Regions from separate parts of the Homo sapiens genome. Here all the other regions are linked to region 3. Evidence: promoter capture Hi-C in 16 types of primary human blood cells and fetal thymus (Javierre and others, 2016). All regions are on one chromosome and are shown on one strand. Each heading gives the region's core, a stretch centred on a gene start or on the middle of the fragment in contact. The rest is flanking DNA. Distances are from core to core; before and after follow the strand shown. Region 1 holds the start of PSMA2 (proteasome 20S subunit alpha 2). Region 2 holds the start of ELMO1 (engulfment and cell motility 1). Region 3 holds the start of CDK13 (cyclin dependent kinase 13).

The links. Contacts are between HindIII fragments. The CHiCAGO score rates a contact against its expected background, and 5 or more counts as called.
Region 1: the fragment with the promoter of PSMA2 here is called in contact with the fragment with the promoter of CDK13 in region 3 in 2 of 17 cell types (total B cells and fetal thymus); the score reaches 7.1 in total B cells.
Region 2: a contact is called between the fragment with the promoter of ELMO1 here and the fragment with the promoter of CDK13 in region 3, in 1 of 17 cell types (total CD8 T cells). The highest score is 7.6, in total CD8 T cells.

What each region holds. Positions count from the first base shown.
Region 1 is chr7:42,930,657-42,933,766 of GRCh38, forward strand. PSMA2 (proteasome 20S subunit alpha 2) reads right to left here and starts at 1,518. Exons shown (of 8, transcript NM_002787.5): 1 at 1,462-1,518. The coding sequence starts at 1,502. MRPL32 (mitochondrial ribosomal protein L32) reads left to right here and starts at 1,720. Exons shown (of 3, transcript NM_031903.3): 1 at 1,720-1,860. The coding sequence starts at 1,731. RefSeq lists an enhancer at 1,669-1,898. The HindIII fragment of the contact is 5,414 bases long and covers 1-1,818 here.
Region 2 is chr7:37,447,395-37,450,570 of GRCh38, forward strand. ELMO1 (engulfment and cell motility 1) reads right to left here and starts at 1,470. Exons shown (of 22, transcript NM_014800.11): 1 at 1,281-1,470. RefSeq lists silencers at 1,110-1,159, 1,170-1,219. The HindIII fragment of the contact is 5,071 bases long and covers 1-3,176 here.
Region 3 is chr7:39,948,291-39,951,505 of GRCh38, forward strand. It overlaps CDK13 (cyclin dependent kinase 13), which reads left to right and starts at 1,966. Exons shown (of 14, transcript NM_003718.5): 1 at 1,966-3,215. The coding sequence starts at 2,352. CDK13-DT (CDK13 divergent transcript) reads right to left here and starts at 1,129. Exons shown (of 1, transcript NR_158201.1): 1 at 1-1,129. RefSeq lists enhancers at 415-1,334, 834-963, 1,034-1,283, 1,335-2,253, 1,754-2,033 and 3 more and silencers at 1,524-1,753, 2,544-2,833, 2,904-2,963. The HindIII fragment of the contact is 3,453 bases long and covers 665-3,215 here.

The DNA of each region.
Region 1 (3,110 bases), core at 268-2,767, 3.0 Mb after region 3:
ATAAAAGACCACATTTGCAGCCTGGGCAACATCGCAAGACCTCATGCCTTAAAAAAAAAAATTAGCAGGCAGGGTGGTGCACACCTCTAGTCCCAGCTACTCCAGAGACTGAGGCAGGAGGATCCCTTGAGCCCAAGAGCTGGAGGCTGCCAAGTCCCTGTCCCTAAAAAAAGGACCACATTTGTTTTCTTCATAAATAGGAACAGTGAATACATCCTGCACACACTATTCTGTCATATGTAATATAATGAGACCTTTTATTGCATAATTAAATTAATCTCGTTCAAAGGTTACAAAAAAACTATTACATACACCCACTGCTTACTGAAAACTGCCAAGAGAAAAGTACTTTTGGAATTTAAGACAACGTTATGTAATGGAAAGTGTATTTTTGTTATCAGAAAAAAAACCCAGTTTGAATGTCAACTCAGCTACTCACCGATGACCTTAGACAAGTTGTTTAATTTGTACAAGCTGCGGTTAGTTCATCTGTAAGAAGCTGAGATAACATTCATTATAGCAGTGGAAAGAGATGGAGCAGGTTAAGGTTAAGTTGCACCTAACAAAGTACTCAACAAGTTAGATCCCGCCTGCCTTCAGTTGTCAGGAGTACATTTTAAGTAAACTGGGCATTACTGATCCTTAAGAAAATGGGTAAGTCAGAAAACTTCCCCAGTCAATTTTTAAAAGTCTTCGGCGATGGTTTTCTCACGTTGAGAGCCATGGTTCGCCCCAACTGTATTTTGGAAAGTAAACTTATTATTCTAATCCCCTTTTCTACAATAGAAAAACCTACAATCTTGTTTAAAGTAAACATCCCCCTCCCCGACGTTCCCCCCAGTCCACCAAAAAAAGACCAAAACTCAAACTTGCCTCGTTGTTAGGGGTTCACAAAAAAGTGATAGGGGCTTTCGGTTTTTAGTCCTTATGTTTCTAATTCGTGCATCGAAGAAACCGAAAGCGGGAGGTTTTGAAAGACACTAGTGCCAAATGGAGACCAAGACTCCGACTTAACTGTAAAGCTGAGAGTTTTCCAAGAAAAGGGAACCCCACATATTTGACCAAGATTCCAAGTTTCAGAAACCACCGCATCAGGTCTACTTGAGCCAGGAAAAAAATCCTGAGTTCGGAACGGGCCACCCAGAGATGGTTAAGCTAAAACTGCCTTCTTTTCTGGTCTCCAAAGTGAAAGCGAATCCTTGGCTATGTGCCTCACCGTCCCGCAGCCCCATGTTAACCCCGCAAAACCGCATCCCCCCGACCCTCCAGCAGCCTCCGACCAAGGAAGCTCCAGGAATCCCGGGTCGGCCTGGCAAATGACTTTGCAAAGCCGCATTTCCAACTCCATTCCCTACTGGACCCTCCAGAAGCACCAATGCCGACGTCAGGATGGGAAAAACTAAATCGACAGAGTACCAGCAACCTCGACTACGCTGAAGACCTCGAGGGCCCCTTCCATACCTGAATGTAGTCAGCGAAAAGCTGTACCCGCGCTCCGCCATCTTTACCCGAAGAGCCAAAGCACAGCCGCACACATGCGCACTGTGGCCGATTTCCTTTCATTTCCCCGCCCCTCACCTTTCCTTTACTCTCTATGATTGGAGGAGAGTCAGAGCTGCTCCAAGAGCATGCGGGGTGTTGTAGTTCTAAGAAGCGAGGCTTGCCCGATTCTGTGCCTGTGCGCATGCTGAAAGCAGGGGCGGGACCGGGGCGGTCTTCCAGCAGGGAAAATGGCGCTGGCCATGCTGGTCTTGGTGGTTTCGCCGTGGTCTGCGGCCCGGGGAGTGCTTCGAAACTACTGGGAGCGACTGCTACGGAAGCTTCCGCAGAGCCGGCCGGGCTTTCCCAGTCCTCCGTGGGGTAGGTAAAGAAGGGCTCCGTGGGAGAGGGGGCTGATGACGGGACCTCGGGCAGCGTAGCAGACGCAGCTTACACAGTTCGCCCTCAGCCCCGGTTCTGATCCGCGGCCTCATGTCGGGGACGTAGTTCGTGACATTCCCATATTAGCGAGAACAGAACGACTGTTTTTGCGCTCCCTCCACCGCAAAAAAAAAAAAAAAAAAATTCCTCTGCTTGTTCCATTCGTACACAGAATGTAACCCAAGCTTGTGTCAAAGATAAATCATAGCCAGCCAGTAAGTAAAGCGCTGAAAACAGATTTTATTCAGTAACTACTGCAGGTAAAGAGCTGAGCTCCATCCCGGTTTGTGCAGAGGTGACTTTGGGCGTTTTAAAGGGAGAATGAGCGAGGCGGGAGTGTAGGGGCTCTGTAGAGTCAGAGAAGTGTAGTATAGTGAAGTCAGTGCAAATGTGATTAGCCGGCTGTGTCTGCTAGCTCGCAGTTGTCTTAGGGAGAATTCTATCCTCCCGCAGAGACTGGGAGACAAAGGCCCTATCCTTCCTAATGATTAGATTTCGAAGGAATGGCTCTCAGGGCCTTGAAAGAAAAGCTTCCGAGTTAGTTGCAAGGGATACGTATTTACAATTATATGCCCTTTCCAGGAAATGCTCTAAGGGAGTTCGGGACCTACTATCGGGGTATGTTGGCCAAAATAAATAGGAAATTTTCCAGGCAGCGTTGAGCTTTCTCAGGCAGGCACTTTAAAGGGGGGGCCGAGGTCATCCTAGGATACAGCCTTATGCTGCTAGAAACTATGCTAGAGTTTGGTCAAGTCTGTGGAGTTCAGGGATTTGTACAGAGTTGTCCTGAGAGGACAGTTCTGCAGGTCTCACTTGGCATCAAGGCTCACCACTCTCTGGATCTGTCTTTCCTTTCCAGCCCTGCCCTCACCTCCCCTCCCGCTTCCCCTCTCCCCCCTCTCCTCTTCCCTTCCCTTCCCTCCCTTCTTTCCTCCCTTCCTCCCTCCCTCCCGCGCAGTACATGTTTTCTGTGGTGTTTGAGCTCTGAGGAGCTGAATTCTGTTTCCCATGTTTCACTTGGAATTAATTTTAATTGGAAGTATCTTGGATGTTGAAACTGTCATGGCTTTGGCATTTACATTCTACTCAATTTCTAAGCAGCCTGAAAGTGATAATATCCAGAAATATACCAAGAAAATATATGCCACTATATGCCAAGCAATGTGCCAAGCTTTCTACATGTACTTCCT
Region 2 (3,176 bases), core at 220-2,719, 2.5 Mb before region 3:
AAGCCCATGATCCAGCGCGGGGGGCATCCCAAATATATTCACTGAGTCTCGGGAGCCGTCCAGGGACTCTCAGAGCTGGGTCACTACCTGGGACCAAGCCTGAGGCTGGTCCTTTAGGTCAAGGCAGGTCCCGACCCGCCTCCAACTTCAAATGGCCCCCTAGGCGGGAGAGGGTCACTGGGCGGGGAGTTCCTGGCTGTGCGGTCACACACACACACACCGACTCACACACACACCCACAACACCCCCCCCACACACACACACTCACACACACACCGACGACACACCACACACACATACATACGCGCGCGCGCACACACCACACACACACACACACACACACACACACACACACGCCGCCTCGCGCGCGCTCGCGGCACAGCACCGACTTCCCAACCCCAAACACACGCGCGCACCCCCGGGACAGCTGAGTTCTGTATTTCCTCTTCCTCAAAGCGACTCCGGCGATCGCAGTCGCCACTCTCCGCTCCGATTCCCGGGCCCCCTGGCATGCCGCCGCCCCCTTCTCTGAAGGCGCGCCCGGTGCGTCCCCTCTCCGAAGCCGAGATTTCCACGAAGCTCCACAAAGCTCCCCGCCGCCTCTCTCGGTCTCGGCGGAGACCCCGGTGTGTCCCCGGGAGGAGAGTATTTACTAACCAGAACCTCAGGGGCTCCCGGCTGCCCAGACCGCCCTCTCCGGCCCTCCTGGCCCCCATTCCTCTGGCCCATCACCGCCCCCTCCCACGAGCGCGCTCGCCGGGGGATTCCCTCCCATCCCCGAGTGCAGGAGAAGACGCCGAGTCTGAGCCGCAGCCGCTTCTCTAGCTCTATAGGAATCTTGACTCCAAGATCCCAGCCCCACATCCCCCGTCCCCAGTAACCCCGCGCCAGCGTCGCAACCCTCCCGCGCCCCCCCTCCCGCAGACCCTGGTCGAAATGTCTCGGCGGGCTCCCGGGCCCCGGGCCCTGCGCTTCATCCGCGGGCGCCGCACCTCCAGCGCCCCCTCCCTCCGCTCCCACTCCCACTCCCGCCATCCCCGGAGCTCAGACTTCCCCAACTGCAGAGCGCCCCGACGCGCCCGCAGCCCTCACCCTGCCGAGCGCGGCGGCCACCCCCGCCCGAGCCGCGGCGCCCCCAGGGAGGAAACAAAAGTGTCTCCGCGGCGCCCGGAGTCCCCCGGAGCAGGACGCCTCCTCCCGGCCCCAGTCCCGGCCCCCTCCCCTGCCGCGCCGAGGTCAGCGAGTCGGGGCGCGGCGCCAGCCCAGGAAACTTTACGAACCTGCTTGGGGTCGCAGGACAGCAGCGGCAAGGGTTCCCGGCGATCAGAGCTCCGGCGACCCGCCACCATTGAAGGGGAACTGGAGGCTCTGTCGCCCAGCGTGGGGCCGCGGCGGCGTGGGTGGCTCTGCCTCTATCCTGTGCCCATCCTCGCCCGCTCCCGCTCGCCCCAGCACACGCACTTACACTCTGGGTCGGCCGGCTGCTGCACCGCCGGCTGCCGCTGCTCTCACTTCCTCTTCCTTCCTCCTGCTGGCCAGAGACACATTTTGCATCTGCAAGGCATCCGGAGATCAGCCGCGAACTCTCCTCCCGAGCGGACGCTGCGGAGTTGCAGCCGCCGCCCCCGGCACCTGCGCCAGGACACTCGTGGTCTGCGCGTTCGCCTTGCGCCCGCACCCTGCCTGGTCCCTGCCCACTGCACTTTGCCTAGGGGGATGCCCACGACTTTTTGAAGTCCCCCTACTTAAAAGACAGAAATGTCAAACACCATGCATGCCTCAGATCTGCTATAAATAATATGTGTGCAGAGCATGACTTCGATGAGCTCACACACGGCGTTTGGAGGCACTAATTAACTCCGTCACCCTCATAGCGCCATCTCCGGGAGGCCAAAAGCGAGTAGCATCTTTTCACATCCTTTTTTAATTTTTGGCAACCGGTTCCGGATATTAAGGGGAAACTTCGGTGGGCTGTTTGAACGCTACTTTAAGACGTGTTTGTTTTGACGCTGTGCCTCTACCCTTGGACAGAGTGGCAAAAAAAAAAAAAAAAAGTTTCCTCCCTCTCCGTCGACATCTATGTATTTACTAACCCTGCAATTGAAACTACAAGATGTATTTCTAACCAATTAAGCCAGGGACTTCCTAATTTTGCATAACTTTGCATAAGGCAAGACGTTCCACCCATAATTTGATATTTAGAATAAATTACTTAATTCATGCAACCTACTTAAATCATTTTCAAAGCAGAAATCAAAAACGTTAACTCCCAGCCTAGCTGGCAGGAGGGAAGAGGGTTGCAGGCGAACCACCTGTCCTCCCCCAGTTCAGAAATACCTACATTGGCTCTACCGGAAAAGTCAAAGGCAGTTCGGCATTTTCTTCTAATTGGCAAAGGAAATAAGTCGGGGGCAGGGAGGCATCAGAATCAAGGTGGAAAACTAAGCTCCCTTTTAAGATCTTCCCCCTCAAGAGCCACAGGCAGCTGTTGAGCACTTGAAATGTGGCTATCCCTGAGATGTTCTGTAAGTGTAAAACAGACATACAATTCAGTATTTTTAAAATGAATGTAAACTAACTTGTTAAGTATGTTTATGTTGATTACATTATTGCAATACATGAGAATAGTCTGATGTAGTAAGTCAGTTGGATTCGTCATGTGTTGGGTTAAGATATAAGCATATATAAGATTAATTTCACCAGTTTCTTTTTACATTTTCTGATGTAGCTACTAGAAAATGTAAGGCTACACATAGGCTCTCATTAGTGGCTCACCTTATACTTTTAATGAACAGCTCTGATCTAACTCCTTATTATACGCATGACTCTGGGAGGCAGTATTAGTATCAAGAGTGCCTGGGTCCAGATGGTTATAAGCCAGTAACTAAAGCAGGGTGACTGCAGGAAAGCAACTTAACTTCTGTATTTCCTCATCTATAAAACAGTAATGATATAATAACAAAAGTCAATAGCACCAACTATTAAATGAAGTAATTTAATAAGTAGTCAGTAAATGGAGCCTTTACTAACGATGCTCTGAGACACTTGTAGTGATAAGTATGAATTTGATCTACAACCTTGTAGCTAAGGCATATAAAGACCTTAACTTTAGTGCATGCGTGGTGAGCACTCAGTAAACATTAGCTGTCATAATTGTTCCCTCCTTGCACAGCAAT
Region 3 (3,215 bases), core at 716-3,215:
TCAGGCCAGTCTGTGATACTGTGATGTCAAACTGATTAAAATAATTTACACTAAGGTATTAACGATGGATAGATACCAAGTGTTTAAGAACTAAACCAACTGATGATCTGAACAAATGAATTTTCAAAGGGGTTACTACATTTAGTCATTGAACAGACGGCTTAGCTTTTTCTTTTATTAGAGGCAGGGCCTCGCCCTGCTGATTGGCCAGGCTGGGGTGCTGTGGCACGGTCATGGCTCACTCCAGCCTCGAACTCTTGAGCTCCAGAGATCCTCCTGCCTCAGCCTCCGGAGTAGCTGGGACTACAGGCGTGTGCCACTGCACAGGGTTAGCTTGCGTTTCCAACCATTCTAAAAGCCAATAAGCCATTTACATTTTAATCTAATTATCCCGAGTGCTTAGTCTGTAACTGAAGGGCAATTCTAAGGCAAGAAATGAGATGTGAGGTCACTATATGGCTATGTTTGGCAACCCCAAAGGTTTAGATATGAAGGTGAAAGTGGGTGAAGTACTAAGAGGGCAGTCCTCATTCGCACAAGATGTTTTTATTTCAAGCCTCCTGAGAATTTGGAATTTTCAGTAGTTCCTTTTAACATTCCACTTATTTCCTGTATTGATTTAAAGCTTTAAAAATTTTTATTTTAAAGTAAATAGTGTTACCGAAGCTTGAGCTGTGATTCCCAAGTGTGTTTTTTAGGATAAGAAGGGGCCTCGCGGAAGTTGCGGTGAGCCGAGATCGCACCATTGCACTCCAGCCTGGGCAACGAGAGCGAAACTCAGTCTCAAAAAAAAAAAAAAAAAAAATGGGGCCTCGAACTTTGGCGTACGTGAGACAAGTTAAACCAACGCCATCTCCACCCTGTTTTGCGGGGTGTTTTCTCTCCTTTCGCAGCTGTTCCACTCCCAGGGCTTGACTGAAGGTACACGGGGGGTAACTGCCTACTCCAGAAGGCCACCAACAGCATTATTTCCCTCGCAGTCTCCAGAAACACTTGTTCTCACTGTGACCTTTCGCTCAACAGGCAGGCAGTGCGGCGTCTGCAGAGCCGGAACCGGCACTGCGCGCTGGACGCAAGCAACAAGCACGACAGGCGCGCCACCACGGGCAGAGTCTCAAGCAACAGCAGTGGGCGGCACACGAATCCTCTCCTTTCTTTAACCCTTCTTCACACGGAGTCCCACCCTCGCCGGAAGCCGAGCGGTTTCTACATCATGCCACTTCCGGTGCGGCCTGCCGGCCCCTGGCGGGAGCGAGCACGCCAGTGCGCGGTAACTTTGTTCCCGCCTCTCTTGCCCCGGCCACCTCTCATCTTCGGCTTTCTCTGAGCGTGAATTGCGGGCGCGCTCCCGGTCGTACGTCAGGGCTGAGGGGAAAAGCCGAAAGAGCGAGGCGAGAAGGAGGGGTTGTGGAGGTTAGGGCCCAACCAGCAAGTCCCGTTGCTCTCCCTCCTCCTGACGAGGAGCGGAGAGGGAAGGGGAGGAGCGAGCCGGGGCAGGCCGCGCACACCAGGAGCCTCCTCGTGGAGGGGGGGAGCGGAGGAAAGGGGTAGCTCCGCCACCTCTGCTGGCGGCGGCGGCGGCGGCGAAAGAAGAAGAAAGTCAGGGCCCGTACCTACCGCCACAGACTCAGAAACGCCCCTGCCCCCATCTCCCCGGAAATAGCCCCCCGCCCAGCCCCGCACAGTCGCTGCCCCAACCGAGAGCCGCAGCCCGGTCGCCCCCGCCTCGCCCCGCCCCGCTGCCCAGCCCCGCGGGCCGCAGAGTGCGCGAGGCCCTAGGCCGGGAGTTGTTGTCAGGCCCAGGCCACTTCCGAGGCGCCTGCGGTGTGTCGCCGCCACCACAGGAGGACGACGTCGACGCCGAGGAGGAGGCGGTGGAGGCGTGTTGTTGTCTCGCCCACTCCCCTCCCCTGAACTTGCACCCAACGTCAGGGCGCGATGGAGTGAAGCGGCGACGAAGGTGGTACTTCCGCGTTGCGCTGCCCGAGCCGAGAGCGCGGCCAAGGCCGCTCCCCCACCCCCGGGGGCACTTGGAGGACTCGGGACTCCCCCGCAGGTCAGCGCCCGGCGCATCTGGTGTTTTCGCTGCCGAGGATAGGACGACGAGCGCAATCGGGAGCTCCGCCGCCCGGATTCCTGCTTCCCTGGGGCCCGGAGGCTGCTGCGTACCCCACTGTGACCTGGAACCCAGGGACCCGAGTCCCGACCCGGATTATCGTGGCGCTTTTCCCGGCCGGCTCTGGTGCTCGGTGTCCCTCCGCCGCCGCTCCCGTTTCCGGCGGGGGAGATGGCCAGGATCTGACCCGGGAGGAGGCCGCACCCGCGCCGCGCTCTGCGGCTGGCTCTAGGCGATGCCGAGCAGCTCGGACACGGCGCTGGGGGGAGGCGGGGGCCTGAGCTGGGCGGAGAAGAAGTTGGAGGAACGCCGCAAGCGGAGGCGATTCCTGTCCCCTCAGCAGCCGCCGCTGCTGTTGCCGCTCCTGCAGCCGCAGCTCCTGCAACCGCCGCCGCCCCCGCCGCCTCTGCTCTTCCTGGCTGCTCCCGGCACGGCCGCCGCCGCAGCCGCCGCCGCCGCGGCCTCCTCCTCTTGCTTCAGCCCGGGCCCCCCTCTGGAGGTCAAGCGGCTGGCGAGAGGCAAGAGGCGCGCAGGAGGGCGGCAGAAGCGGCGTCGCGGGCCCCGCGCCGGGCAGGAGGCGGAGAAGCGTCGGGTCTTCTCGCTGCCCCAGCCGCAGCAGGACGGCGGTGGCGGTGCTAGTAGCGGCGGGGGTGTGACCCCGCTGGTGGAATACGAGGATGTGAGCTCCCAGTCCGAGCAGGGGCTGCTGCTGGGGGGGGCCAGCGCGGCAACGGCGGCGACGGCTGCCGGGGGAACGGGGGGCAGCGGCGGGAGTCCGGCCTCCTCCTCCGGCACCCAGCGGCGCGGGGAGGGGTCGGAGCGCAGGCCCCGCCGGGACCGCCGCAGCAGCAGTGGCCGCAGCAAGGAGCGCCACCGCGAGCACCGGCGGCGGGATGGGCAGCGCGGTGGCAGCGAGGCCTCCAAGTCCCGCAGCCGCCACAGCCACAGCGGCGAGGAACGGGCCGAGGTCGCCAAGAGCGGCAGCAGCAGCAGCAGCGGCGGCCGCCGGAAAAGCGCTTCGGCCACATCCAGCAGCAGTAGCAGCCGCAAGGACCGGGACTCGAAGGCCCACCGCAGCCGGACTAAGTCGTCCAAGGAG